Regions from separate parts of the Homo sapiens genome. Here regions 1, 3, 4 and 5 are each linked to region 2. The links are contacts of gene promoters, found by promoter capture Hi-C in human tissues and cell types (Jung and others, 2019). All regions are on one chromosome and are shown on one strand. Each heading gives the region's core, a stretch centred on a gene start or on the middle of the fragment in contact. The rest is flanking DNA. Distances are from core to core; before and after follow the strand shown. Region 1 overlaps VPS51 (VPS51 subunit of GARP complex). Region 2 holds the start of PYGM (glycogen phosphorylase, muscle associated). Region 3 holds the start of SYVN1 (synoviolin 1). Region 4 has its middle 8.6 kb from the start of MIR1237. Region 5 has its middle 8.0 kb from the start of CDCA5.

Evidence for each region. The method cuts DNA at HindIII sites, captures the fragments that hold promoters and counts their contacts. A contact is called where the count stands out against the background at its distance.
Region 1: a fragment that was not itself captured here is called in contact with the fragment with the promoter of PYGM in region 2 in 2 of the 25 tissues and cell types used here (H1 embryonic stem cells and spleen).
Region 3: the fragment with the promoter of SYVN1 here is called in contact with the fragment with the promoter of PYGM in region 2 in 1 of the 25 tissues and cell types used here (spleen).
Region 4: a contact is called between a fragment that was not itself captured here and the fragment with the promoter of PYGM in region 2, in 2 of the 25 tissues and cell types used here (dorsolateral prefrontal cortex and thymus).
Region 5: a contact is called between a fragment that was not itself captured here and the fragment with the promoter of PYGM in region 2, in 1 of the 25 tissues and cell types used here (spleen).

Annotation. Positions count from the first base shown.
Region 1 is chr11:65,098,545-65,101,244 of GRCh38, forward strand. All of the region lies in intron 2 of VPS51 (VPS51 subunit of GARP complex), which reads left to right. Among named protein-coding and RNA genes, the nearest start is that of VPS51, 3.7 kb to the left of the region's middle. The HindIII fragment of the contact is 4,540 bases long and covers 1-2,700 here.
Region 2 is chr11:64,758,721-64,761,421 of GRCh38, forward strand. It overlaps PYGM (glycogen phosphorylase, muscle associated), which reads right to left and starts at 1,254. Exons shown (of 20, transcript NM_005609.4): 1 at 936-1,254. The coding sequence starts at 1,178. RefSeq lists enhancers at 1-663, 664-1,368, 1,369-2,071. The HindIII fragment of the contact is 11,504 bases long and covers 1-2,701 here.
Region 3 is chr11:65,133,113-65,135,812 of GRCh38, forward strand. SYVN1 (synoviolin 1) reads right to left here and starts at 1,407. Exons shown (of 16, transcript NM_172230.3): 1 at 1,344-1,407; 2 at 358-506; 3 at 48-140. The coding sequence starts at 489. RefSeq lists silencers at 10-186, 1,903-2,086 and enhancers at 788-857, 1,146-2,049, 1,408-1,917. The HindIII fragment of the contact is 5,976 bases long and covers 1-2,700 here.
Region 4 is chr11:64,375,812-64,378,511 of GRCh38, forward strand. No RefSeq gene overlaps it. Among named protein-coding and RNA genes, the nearest start is that of MIR1237, 8.6 kb to the left of the region's middle. The HindIII fragment of the contact is 8,669 bases long and covers 1-2,700 here.
Region 5 is chr11:65,074,699-65,077,398 of GRCh38, forward strand. It overlaps a transcript of CDCA5 not described here. Among named protein-coding and RNA genes, the nearest start is that of CDCA5, 8.0 kb to the right of the region's middle. The HindIII fragment of the contact is 9,601 bases long and covers 1-2,700 here.

The DNA.
Region 1 (2,700 bases), core at 106-2,605, 340 kb after region 2:
TACCTGCAGCCTGTGGAATGTTCTGGGAGCATCTGTGGGGTTGCATTCTGATGTCTTACTCTCGTGTCACAGTGGTGGGTGTGGTAACCTATACACATTGTTCTTTTATCTGATTTGAAGCAGATTCCATGAGTAGGCACCTTTCTGTTAGCTAATACCAGCATCAAAATGGCAAGAAATCATAGTTTCTGTGCTGGGATATTTCTCACAGGAATTTAATAAGATTACATTTTCCATTTGTTGGAATGTGTATAATAATATTTTGAGACTTAGCTCTTTTTGTACATCCCACAAAAGGAACAAACGTTTGGAAAAGTGTGAGGATAACCAGGAGCATTGATGTCTTAGAAGCTTAAGTGAGGGGCCGGGCATGGGGTTCTCACCCGTGATCCCAGCACTTTGGGAGGCTGAGGTGGGTGGATCACTTGAGGCTAGGAGTTCAAGACCAGCCTGGCCAACATGGTGAAACCCTGTCTCTACTAAAAATACAAAAATTAGCTGGGCAAGGTGGTGCATGCCTGTAGTCCAAGCTACTCATGAGGCTGAGGCAGGAGAATTGCTTGAACCCAGGAGGTGGAGGTTGCGTGAGGAAGGTGTTTCAAGACATAGATTTGATAGACTTGGGCGAGACACTCAGGAAAGTAATGTAGCATGGAGTGTGTGTTGATTGGGCAAGAGAGAGAGAAAAATGAGAAAGGAACTAGGTCCTCAGGAAGGAGGGGGGTGGAACAGAGCAGGGATGGAGGCATCGGCCTCAGCAAAGGGCCGGGAGCTCATCTATGGTAGCAGGAGGGGAAGCAGAATGTGGGCAGAGCCAGGCAGATAGTAGATGTGCAGTTTAACTAGAAACCTTCCAGAATGTATTAGGGATTTGGCTTTTATCCACAGAGAGCTAAAACAAATGAGTGATGTGCTCAGATTTCTGGTTTGAATAGATTCCTCCAGCTGCACTGGCAGGAATGGATGGGGCTGAGCACAGTGGCTCATGCCTGTAATCCCTGCACTTTGGAAGGCTGAGGTGGGAGGATCACTTGAGCCCAGGAGTTTGAGACCAGCCTGTGCAACATAGTGAGACCCGATATCTAGAAAAAAAAAAATAGCTGGGTATGGTGGCACACACTTGTTAGAATAAACCCAGCTACTTGGGGAGGCTAAGGTGGGTGGATCACATGAGCCCAGGAGCTGGAGATTGCAGTGAGCTATAATCTCACCATTGCACTCTAGCCTGGGTGACAGAGCAAGACCTAGTCTCAAAAAATAAATAAATAAATAAAAAGGCCAGGTGCGGTGGCTTATGCCTATAATCTTAGCACTCTGAGAGGCCGAGACGGGTGGATCATCTGAGGTCAGGCATTTGAGACCAGGCTGGCCAATATGGTGAAACCCCATCTCTACTAAAAATACAAAAATTAGTCAGGCATGGTGGCAGGCATCTGTAGTCCCAGCTACTCAGGAGGCTGAGGCAGGAGAATCGCTTGAACCCAGGAGGCGGAGGTTGCAGTGAGTCGAGATCGCGCCACTGCACTCCAGCCTGGGCAACAGAGCGAGACTCCGTCTCAAAAATAATAATAATAATAAATAATAATAAAAGGACAGCCCACAGAATGGGAGAAAATATTTGCAAGTTAGTTATCTAATAAAAATCTAGTGTTCAGAACATAAAAAGAACGTTTTTTAGCTCAGGGCTAAAAAGACAAATAACCCTAATTTAAAATGGGCAAAGGATTTGAATAGACACTTCTCCAGAGAAAACATACAAGTGGCCGAAAAGCACATATAAATATGCTCAGCATCATTAGGTCTTAGGGAAATGCAAATCCAAACCACAAAATGCTGCACCCAGTGTGGAAGACAGTTTGACCATTCTTCAAAACCACACACAAGATTACCATATGATCGGCAATTTTACTCCTAGGAATATACCAAAGAGAATTGAAAACATGTTCACATAAAAACATGTACACAAGTGTTCATAGCAGTGTTTTTTTTTTTTTTTTTTTTTTTGAGATGGAGTCTAGCTCTGTCACCCAGGCTAGAGTGCAGTGGTGCCATCTTGGCTCACTGTAACCTCCGCCTCCCCAGTTCAAGCGATTCTCCTGCCTCAGCCTCCTGAGTAGCTGGGATTATAGGTGTGCACCATCACACCCGCCTAATTTTTTTATTTTTATTTTTTGTATATTTACTAGAGACGGGATTCCACCTTGTTGGCCAGGCTGGTCTTGAACTCCTGACCTCAAGTGATCCGCTTGCCTCGGCTTCCCAAAGTACTGGGATTACAGGCAAGAGCCACCATGCCTGGCCAATAGCAGCACTTTTTATAATAGCCACAAGGTGGAAGCAATCCAAATGGCCATCAATTGAATGAATATAAACAAATATCCACACAGTGGAATATTATTCAGCCATAAAAATAGATATAACATACTGACACAGGCTACAACATAGATTAACCTTGGAAACATGCTAATGTTTCATATGCCTATGATTCCATTTCTGTTAAATGTATTCTGTAGCGAATAGACAAATCCATAGAGACAGAAACTAGATTAATGGTTGCCAAGTTCTAGGAGTGGGGGAATAAGGAATGACTGCCAAGGGTTACAGGGTTTCTTTAGGGGATGATGAAATGTTCTGGAATTACGTAGTGAGGTTGGTTGTACAACCTTGTGAATATATTAAACATATTAAAAACCACTGAAT
Region 2 (2,701 bases), core at 4-2,503:
ATGGGCAGGGAATGGGGTCAGGGCCACACACCAACACTCAGCCAGGCCCAGCCACGCCTGGACCTCTGGCCCGCCTGCCCTGCTCAGCAGTCCCATCCCTGTCCCCAATTTGTTTCTCCCTGTCTCAGGCTTTGGGGCCCAGCGGTTAAGGTTCTGGTCCCAGCATTCCTCTGACTTTGGACAAATCACTCTCTTTGGCCTCAGTCTCCTCATCTGGGAAATAGCGCTGGCCATACCCACTTCAGGGACTGAGGTACTCGGGAGAATGGGCACCCCTTCCCCCTGCACACACCCCCAGAGAAAAAAGTCATTTGCTCAAGGTCACACAGTGGCTAGAGACTGGGCTAGAGACTGTCACCTCCCATCCTTGCACTGTCCAGTTCCCCTTGGCCCTCAAGCCTCAATCCCAAGGAGACCCAGAGGCACCAGAAACTAGGATGCTGCCAGTGCCTGGTCTCCCAGTTTCCTGGGTCCCCTCCTGGGCCGTCTGCCCGCCCCTCCCCCACTCCCCACCGAGGCGTGTCAGGTTGCTGACATTTACCAGTGACCCCACCGGACACTTGATCTCTGCCGCCCCAGCTGCCCCAGCCCCGCCTGCTGCACAGGCACACCGCGCATACATGCAGCAACTGATGTGTCCTTCCACCTGGGCCCAGCCAGGCCACAGGCGCCGTCCTGCCCACCAGCACCCACTCCAACCTTCTCCGAGTGGGCACTGACCCTTTGCAGCCAGCCCACCTGCTCTGAGCTCCCTGACCCCCACTCCTGCCCCAGGTTTCTCCCTCAGATTGTCCCAGCACCCCTTGTGCCTGGCACCCCTGGATTCTCCACCCCCAAGAACCTAGAGTGACGAGGGGCAGCCACTTAAGTCAAGATCGCCAGCTCCCTGGCAGCGCCTTCAGCCCATACCCCCACCCCAGGCTCCCCAGCAGCACCTTGGGGTCCTTCTCATAGTAGTGCTGCTGCGTGCGGATCCAGCGCCCCACGAGGTGGTCGCGCACGGTATGGGCCAGAGCAAAGTAGTAGTCTCGTGGGGTGGCCACATTGCGGTCCTTTACGAGTGTGAAATGCAGGTGCCGGTTGAAGTTCTTTTTCAGCTCAGTCACGTTCTCCACGCCGGCCAGGCCACGCACACTGATTTGCTTTCTTTTCTCTTGGTCTGACAGGGGCCGGGACATGGCTGCAGGAGGGCGGGCCGGACTGGACTGATGGTAGAGGGGACGGCGGCCTCAGCACTGCCTCCAGCCAAGGAGTGGAGCTCCCCAGCCTCAAGGGGATTTAAAGCCTGGCTCTGGGCAGCACGCCCCGCCTCCCCTGCAATGGGAGGGTCTTGGCCTGGCAGCTCAGGGAGCTATTTTGAGGGCAAGGGGAGGAGAGGAGAGGGGAGGGAGAGGTGAGCTCCACTTGGGCCGCCAAGACTGGCCTGGCTTGTTCACAGGCCTGTGCTGACCCACTTCCTCCAGGCCTTGCACATGGTCTTCTGTCCCTTGTCCCTGCCTTTTGGAGGGTTGGATACAAGAAGGAGCAGGCAGAGTGCTGGATTGGGGAGCTGTCTGTCAGTGGCTGAACCAGGATGGGAGGCCATGTGTTGTGGCAAAAGGAACCAGGACCCCCTGCAGGCTGTGGTGCAGGAGCCAAGTCAGTGTCCCCTGACGGAAGAGGTGCAACTAGCAGAGGCCACTGGATGTCTTTGAGAAAGGGGCCCACGACCCTGCATTGCAGGGGTGGTGTGAGGGAGGTTGTGTGAGGCAGGGCCACAGCCCTCACTCCACCCCCACCGAAGCTGAGCAGCTCTAGGCTCCCCCTGTTGCTGTCCCTCAAGGAGCCCTGAAGTGACCTTTTGGAGAGGGATGCTCAGGTTACTGGCCAGCATTGGCGGGAGGCCGCTAGCCTGCAGCACGGGGCCCTGGGAACTGTAGTCCTATAGGCCCTCGGCGGTGGGAGAAACTGAGGCATTCCCCACTCCATCATCATACTGGTTTAATGACAGTAAGTTCTCCCTGTGATTCCACTGCTTAGGAAGTGATTAGAGGCCTTCTTTCACTTCTTCCTGCCACCTGGGGCCACACTCTGAGCAGGATTTTGTAAACCAGCTCTGTGACCTGGCCTATAAAATGGGTGCCTAATCTGTACCTCGAGGACCTCACCCCATTTGTGTGCATAGCCCCACAGCTTTGAGCCCTTCCCTGGAGGCTTTGGCTATCCTCCCATTCACTGCTGTGTTCTGGCCCCAGCACTGACTTGCTGTGTGACCTCAAGCTGGTTGCTTTACCTTTCTGAGCTTTGGATTCCTTCACCAAATTTAGACTCTCCAATGAGAAAAAAAAAAATCCCTGCCTCTCAGCTGCTGCCTCCTCATCTTGTGAGGGCAGGCTTCGGATCCTGCTGTTCTTTAAGAGAAAGGAACCAGGACCTTGTGCTAGTTCAAAGGCTGTTTGGGCCTCCCGGGTGGTGGGCCGGTGGAGGGGAAGAGCTGGGTGTTCTGTTCTGAAGGCCAAGGAAGCAGGTCAAAAGCCTGGACAGCTGCAGGATACTATTGAGAGCCTGGTTCGGAGAAAGCCAAGCTGTTTCTGAGAACTTTTTTTTTTTTTTTTTTGAGGTAGAGTTTCATTCTTGTCGCCCAGGCTAGAGTGCAATGGCATGATCTCAGCTCACTGCAACCTCCGCCTCCTGGGCTCAAGCAATTCTGCCTCAGCCTCCT
Region 3 (2,700 bases), core at 157-2,656, 370 kb after region 2:
TCTTTCCCAGCACCCTGCCCTCACCTTTGGGGCAGCCGACATCTTACCTCCATCTCTGCTGCCCTCAGTTGCCCAAAGAACACCTTGCCCATCACCTTGCCCAGAAGGAAGACAAGGACAAAGGCCTGGATGTACAGGACCTAGGAGTGGGGAGAGGCTGTGGTTTGAGGTCACTTTCTGCTTTCCTCTCCTTGGGACTCATCATGCAGGATCCTCCACATCCTCATCACAGTTTATTCAAAGTTAGGCAGCTGGCGGCTACTTCCCTACTTACCTGACCTCTAGCCCCGCCCCTTGCCCAGGCAGACTCCTCCTTCCCTCCCAGGGAGTTCCTCCCTCCCTGAGCCCTGAACTCACTGCCATGCTGGGGCTGGACTTGGTCAGGTACACCACAGTGGGGTAGAACTGGTGTTTGAGGTAGTAGGCGTGAGCCACCACAGCCCCGGTCAGCGCCAGGCTGGCCGCCATCATCACTGCCGTGCGGAACATTGCCCTGGCCCGGAGACCTGCATGGGGCAAGAAAATAACTTATGTGATGCTCGTGCTGTGCAAAATAGCCCGGTGCCTGGCACAGCCTCAATTCATAGGAGAAAGTGGGGGGGAAATCACATTTCGCCCTCGAAATCATCAGACAAAGAATAGCTTACGCTACCCCATTTTACAAATTAGACTCGAAGGGGTTAAGTGATCACACTGACGCAAGGCCTGGAACCTGGGTCAGTCTTGCTTCAAATCTAGGGCTCTTTCCACGCTGCCTGCCAAGCCGCCTCCTCTAGGGAGGTGATGAGGAAAAGCTGCAATGTTGGAGGAGGGGGAGCTGCACCGCTGACCCTCCGGTGGAGAAGATGGGGTGGGAGGCAACAGCAGAAATCTGCTCCAGGGGCGGGAATGCGCAGCCAGGGCTGAGAGCAGCCAAGGCACAGAGGATAGCAGGCTGGGCAGGCGACAGCGCCGGTGACAGCTGTGTTAGGGTGGGCAGTTCGGACGCCCGCCCTGCGGGAGCGGGCGGGGAACGTCAGCCTGGAATCCTGGGGTCCCCCGACCCCCGGAGTAGTGTCAACTCAGAGCACCACAAAAACAGCGGGACGGGAGAGAGCAGCAGCGGGACGGGAGGAGCCGGGTCGCCCTCGCGGCCGCGCACCTGTGAGCACCAGGAGTTGCGGGCGTCGCAGGCAGGGCCCAGGCTTGAGCAAAGCGGCCGCACCGGCGTCTGAGGTCTCCGGCCAGCTGACAGGCCGAAAGCGTGCGGCGGGGCTGAGGGGCGTGCCGACTCCGGAGACCTCAAGGGGAAGGTTCGGGTCCCGACCCCAACCACAACTCGGGCCAGACTTCGCCCCACTCACCAGGAACCCAGCGCCGCGAGCCCGCTCAATCCGCGCGACTGCGGCTGCCCCTCCGGTTAACAACACTCCCCACCCCCTGCGAACCGGAACTTCGGGGGTCAGACACCTCACTTCCGGCGGCGCGGGGCGCGGCGTGGGTCGTACCAAGTGCGTCCTGCCCTGGCTCGCACTGCGCCCTACGTGGGCCCATAGCAATGGTGTCACCACCGTATCTGGGGTGATGTCTACGGGGAAGGGCTGGGCAAGAGGTCCGAGAGGTGGTCGGAAGGTAATAAGGCAACAGGGGGGAGTCGGAGGTCCCCCTATTATTTATTAGTCACAGATGGTATGGCTCCTGCGCTGAGTGGCCTCCTCGGACTGGGGGACTCGGCCCCGCGAGCAGCTGGGAAGGGGAGCCGCTTGCGGGCTGTACCACCTGGAGCGGGGAGTAGGCCAGGGACAGACTATACAAGCCTGAGGGGAATGAAATGTTTTCTTAAACATTTAGGGAGAGTCACAACAGTTTGACAAATACGGTGCTCTCTGAGAGAACTGGATGCGGAAAACAAAAATTTGTCTTCTCCATGATCACCCCCACAAGTTGTGTGGGAGTGAGTTGGGTCCCGTGGCTGCCACTGATTGGTTGCGATAAGTTACGCGGCCCAATAAGAAAAAGAATGTACCTTTGCTGGCCTATAGAAAGGGGAAAGCAGGTGAGTGGTTGTTAGGGGCGGACAGCTGCGTTGCCTAGGCCCTGGTCCCGCTCCAGTTGGCTGAGAGTAGGGAAAGCTCAGTCCTTGGGCGAGTGATCCCTGGCTGGCCTCCGGGAACGTTTGCCGCGCCAGGACAGGGAGGGACAACCAGGTGTACCCGAGACTGGGAGATTAATTCCTGCTAATCTTGGGACGGAAGTGTTCTGTTTGTTCAAAGGAATTGACTTCAGCGTCGCAGGCCTGCCCGCATCTCAGTGTCTGATTTTGCTGCCCATGTGTTGTTCAGCTCTGAGCCATAAGCAAGACCCCCACTGGTCCTGGGCTGCACTGTATTTTAGTTCGTGTCTGGGTCGCAGCCAACTAAGCCTGCTGATTAACAAAATGGAGCTAATGCATCCACTTTGTGCCTTGCGTTTTCCTCCGTCATCTCATTTAATCATCAATCACTAAGGTTTATGAGCTAGGGGGTGCTACCCCCTCCCCCGAAACGTGGGGCAATTGAAATTCAAAGGCTTACCAAAACCTGTCCTAGGATTGGCGCCAGGTCTGTCTGCCTCTAAATCTCTGTGCTGTTGGTCTCAGCCATCTTCCCTGCCACCTGTTGACTTGACAGTTTCAGCTTATAACCAGTCAGAGTTGGCTTCCCCGTAAGGCCACGTATAACT
Region 4 (2,700 bases), core at 104-2,603, 380 kb before region 2:
AGAAACTCATTTTTGGGGCCAGCACTTTTTTTTTTTTTTTTTGAGACAGTGTTTTATTCTGTCGCCTACCCTTGAGTGTAGTGGTGCAATCTCGGCTCACTACAGCCTCAACCTTCTGGGCCCAAGTGATCCTCCCACCTCAGCCACCCAAGTAGCTGGGATTACAGGCATGCGCCACCATGCCTGGCTAATTTTTGTATTTTTGTAGAGATGGGGTTTCGCCAAGTTGCCCAGGCAGGTCTTGAACTCCTGAGCTCAAGTGATCTGCTTCCCAAAGTGTTGGGACTGCACGCATTAGCCACCGCACCTGGCCTAAGCACACGCTGTAAAATGAGGAAAAGCATATGGAATCCTAGATGTGAGGCTTTTGCTGATGAGCTGGAAGGGCTGGCCCTGGGGCAGTCTTCCTGCATGGTCTAATCAGCTGGAGCAGAATCACGCTGCCGCCACAGACAGGGCCTCTGCTTTCCAGGTTGCCGCAGTCCCCACCACTCCCTGTGGTTACACCAGCTCTGTCCTGCATTCATCCCTCTGGCCCTCTAGGCATTTGAGTTTGTGACTCTGATATAAACAGTCTCCTTCCACGGTCACTGCTGCACAAAAATGGGCTTTGTGAAATGTCAAAGATACCCCTTAAATCTTTTATTTTTGGCCAGGTGCGGTGGCTCATCCCTGTAATTCCATCACTTGGGGAGGCCGAGGCGGGTAGATCACTTGAGGTCAGGAGTTCGAGACCAACCCAGCCATGGCAAAACCCCGTCTCTACTAAAAATATAAAAATTAGCCGGGTGTGGTGGCGCAGGCCTGTAATCCCAGCTACCTGGGAGGCTGAGGGAGGGGAGTCGCTTGAACCCGGGAGGTGGAGGTTGCAGTGAGCTGAGATGGCGCCACTGCACTCCAGCCTGGGCGACAGAGCGAGATTCCATCTCAAAAAAAAAAAAATCTTTTATTTTGTTTTAAAACTTAAATTTAGTTTCTATTTGTATTTGTGAAAGACGATAAATTTGGCCGAGTGGGGTGGCTCTCTCCTATAATCCCAGCACTGTGGGAGGCCAAGGAGGGAGAATCCCTTGAGCTCAGGAGTTCCAGACTAACCTGGACACCATAGTGAGATGAGAGCTTGTCTCAAAAAAAAAAAATATATATATATATAATTCATATGATTCAAAATTCAAAGGATCCATAAAAGTACATAGTGAAAAATGTTCTTCCACATGCTGACCCTCTGCCACGTACCTTCTGTTGTTGCCAGAGGAAGCTAATGTGTTCTTGTGTAGTTTTCCAGGAATATTTATGTGTAGTCGAACAACTATATAATAATATGCATGTATAAGTAAAAATTCATATTAATTAAATGTTAATTTTAGAAAAAATCAGTAAGAGGCTGGGCACGATGGCTCACGCCTGTAATCCCAGCACTTTGGGAGGCCGAGGTGGGCGGATCAAGAGGTCAGGAGATCGAGATCATCCTGGCAAACACGGTGAAACCCTGTCTCTACTAAAAATACAAAAAATTAGCTGGGTGTGGTGGCGGGCTCCTGTAGTCCCAGCTACTCAGGAGGTTGAGGCAGGAGAATGGCGTGAACCTGGGAGGCGGAGCTTGCAGTGAGCAGAGATTGCGCCACTGCACTCTAACCTGGGCAACAGAGCGAGACTCCGTCTCAAAAAAAAAAAAAAAGAAAAAATCAGTAAATGCAAAGGAGATTTCAAAAAATCACTCGTGGCATTACTCTCCATAGATAAACTGTGTTAGTTAATATTTTGATGCATTCAATTCTTTTTTTTTTTTTTTTTTTTTGAGACAGATTCTTGCTGTGACACCCAGGCTGGAGTACAGTGGCGGTATCTCAGCTCACTGCAACCTCCCACTCCTAAGTTCGAGTGATTCTCCTGTCTCAGCCTCCCAGGTAGCTGGGATTACAGGTGCGCAACATCCCACCAGGCTAATTTTTGTATTATTAGTAGAGACGGGGTTTTACCACGTTGGCCAGGCTGGTCTCGAACTCCTGACCTCAGGTGATCCACCCGTGTTGGCCTCCCAAAGTGCCACTTACAGGCATGAGCCACTTCGCCTGGTCTGATGCATTCACTTCTAAGTTTTTCTTTGTTTTTTTTCTTTTTGAGGCAGGGTCTCACTCTGTCACCCAGGCGGGAGTGCAGTGACATGATCATAGTTCATTGCAGCTTCAACCTCCTGGGCTGAAGCAATTCTCACACCTCATTTTTTGATTTTGTTGTTGTTTTTTGTAGAGATGGAGTCTCACTATGTTGTCCAGGCTGGTCTCGAACTCCTGGGCTCAAGCAAGCCTCCCACCTCGGACTCCCAAAGTTTTGGGATTACAGGTGTGAGCCACCATGCCCGGCCTAGAATTTTCTTTATTGATACAGATTTTTAGTTAAAATGGCATCAAAATGTAAATAGGTTATTATAGCCTGTCTAAAGTCAAAAATAGATTGTGAATATCTTTCTATGTCAATGACTATATTTTACAATTATTCTTTGTAGCTGTAGGGTGCTTCATTATATGGGTATGCAATGATTTATTTAGATTGTTTCTATTTTTGGCTACAGCTCCTTGCTATTTTAAACAGTGCTGCAGTGAACATCCTTGTACCTACGTCTTTGCTCACCTGTCCAAATATTTCCTTAGGATACGTTTCCTAGAAGTGAAGTTAATAGGCTAAAGGATGTGCCGCTGC
Region 5 (2,700 bases), core at 37-2,536, 320 kb after region 2:
ACTGCAGTCCAGCCTGGGCGACGGAGCCAGACCTTGTCTCAAAAAAAAAAAAAAAAAAAAAAAAAAATTGGCAGGGGTTTTGGCTGGGCATGGTGGCTCACACCTCTAATCCCAGCACTTTAGGAGGCCAAGGAGGGTGGATCACCTGAGGTCGGGAGTTCAAGACCAGTCTGACCAACATGGAGAAACCCCGTCTCTTACTAAAAATACAAAATTAGCTGGGCGTGGTGGCACATGCCTGTAATTCCAGCTACTCAGGAGGCTGAGGCAGGAGAATCGCTTGAACTCGGGAGGTGGAGGTTGTGGTGAGCCGAGATCGTGCCATTGCACTCCAGCCTGGGTGACAAGAGTGAAACTCCGTCTCAAAAAAAAAAAAAAAAAAAAGGGTTTTAAGGAGGGGAGAAATAGGCCCGGCGTGCCAGCCACGGTGATTCACGCCTATAACCCCAGCACTTTGGGAGGCTGAGTTGGGCGGACCACCTGAGGTCAGAAATTAGAGACCAGCTTGGCCAACATAACGAAACCCCGTCTCTACTAAAAATAGAAAAATTAGCCGGGTGTGGCAGTGGGCACCTGTAATCCTAGCTACTTGGGAGGCTGAGGCAGGAGAATCACTTGAACCCAGGAGGTGGAGGTTGCAGTCAGCCGAGATTGCACCACTGCACTCTAGCCTGGGCAACAAAAGTGAAACTCCATCTCAAAAATAAAAATAAAAAATTAAGGAGGGGAGAAACAGGATCATATTGTGTGTTTTAGGAAATGTGTTCTAGCTGCAGTGCAGACAGTGTGGAGATACAGCAGCCCAAGGGAATGACCCACAGGAGGCTAGTGCAATTGTCTAGTGGCTGTGGGGTGGGGGGGATGTTGAGGGGGATGGGGCTGGCCACATGGGGTGAAGGAAGAAGGAGCTGGTCCTGGGTTCCTGGCCCGTGTGACTGTGTCAGCTGGTGGCTCTGCTAATGGCACAGAGAACACAGGAGTAGGCAAGCTGCTGGATGAGCAGAGCTTCAGATGACTTCCTGAAAGGCAGTTCTAGATTCTGATTTGTAGCTCAGGACAGTTTTAGGTTGGAGATAAAGATGGACAAGTCTTGAGCAAGGAGGCAGTCCAGAGAGCGAGGCTACCCGGCAAGAGCAGGCAGGTGGGAAAGAGGGTCCAGGACTGAGGCCTGGTATCCAGACATTTCAGGAAAAGCCAAGAAAAAGGAGCTGGCAGTGCCACAGCCCCAAAGAGGGTGTCCTGGCAGAGGCCCGAGCTTAGTATGTTGGATATTAGGACATCACTGGTTACCTTTGTCTGAGCTGTTAAAGAGAGTGACGAGGGCATTGGGAATAAATTCAAAGTAAAGAGCAACTTGGAACGTTCCTTCAAGCTTAAAATGGTGGTAGCTAACGACAGATGCTGGTCGACTTTTGGTTGTCTTTTTTGTCTTTTGAAACAGGGTCTTTACTCTGTTGCCCAGACTGGAGTGCAATGGCGTCACCATGGCTCACTGTAGCCCCGACCTCCCAGGCTCAGGTGATCCTCCCACCTCAGCCTCCTGAGTAGCTGGACTGCAGATATGTGCCACCACGCCCATTTATTTTTTTTACATTTTTTGTAGTCAGGATCTCCCTATGTTGCCCAGGCTGGTCTTGAACTCCTGAGCTCAAGTGATCCTCCTGCCTCAGCTTCCCAAAGTGCTGGGATTACAGGTGTCAGCCACTGTGCCCAGCCTGGTTGTCATTTTTTAACAACAAAGCAAATAAAAGCCATTTAGGACTTGGAAGAAAAAGAAGAGGAAGGTTTCAGAGACAAGATAATTGGATCAAAAACCAAAGTGGAAAGGCTAGCCTTGAAGAGGGGACCCATCTCCTCTGGGTGGGGGAAGGAGGTCAAAGCGGATTAAGTCTGTGGAGAACTTAATGGCTTTGATTTGTTTGGATGACTAGGAGGCAAGTACAAGTGTGGAGGATGGGATGGGAGGCTGGTCTGTGCCACCTGCCTGTAGGGTCCTAGCCTTACCTAAGGCCAAGTGGGAGAATTTCCAGGCATCAGCATCTTTGATCAGCTCCCCAGGGTCCCACAGCACCTGCTGCTACACAGTGTCCAGTCTGGACCATGGAGTGAGCAACTCGGGCTCCTTCAAAGGAGCCTGAAAGGGAATGGGGAACGAGGGCTGGACTCGGGAGGGTGTTTGCTTCCCAGGCATCTCCCGTGGGCACTGGGGGAGCTCTTAGCACTCTCACCCCAGACCCGACTTTCTTCCTCCTAGAAGAGGAGCAGACTGGGGACTGGACAGAAATAAACAAGACACGGGGCAGGACAGGCCAGGCGCAGTGGCTCACGCCTGTAATCCCAACACTTTGGGAGGCCGAGGAGGGCAGATCACTTGAGGTCAGAGTTCAAGACCAGCCTGGCCAACATGGTGAAACCTCATCTCTAATAAAAATATAAAAATTAGCCAGGCGTGGTGGTGGGCACCTGTAACCCCAGCTACTTGGGAGGCTGAGGCAGGAGAATCGCTTGAACCTGGGAGGCAGAGGTTGCAGTCAACTGAGATCACGCCACTGGACTCCAGCCTGGGAGACAGAGCTAGACTCTGTCTCAAAGAAAAAAAAAAGTGTGTGGGGCACAGTGATCTACCATGGGGCGAATGCGGGGAAGCGGGGCTGGGAGCGCCTGGACAAAGGGACAACCCCAGTGATGCAGCCCACTGGA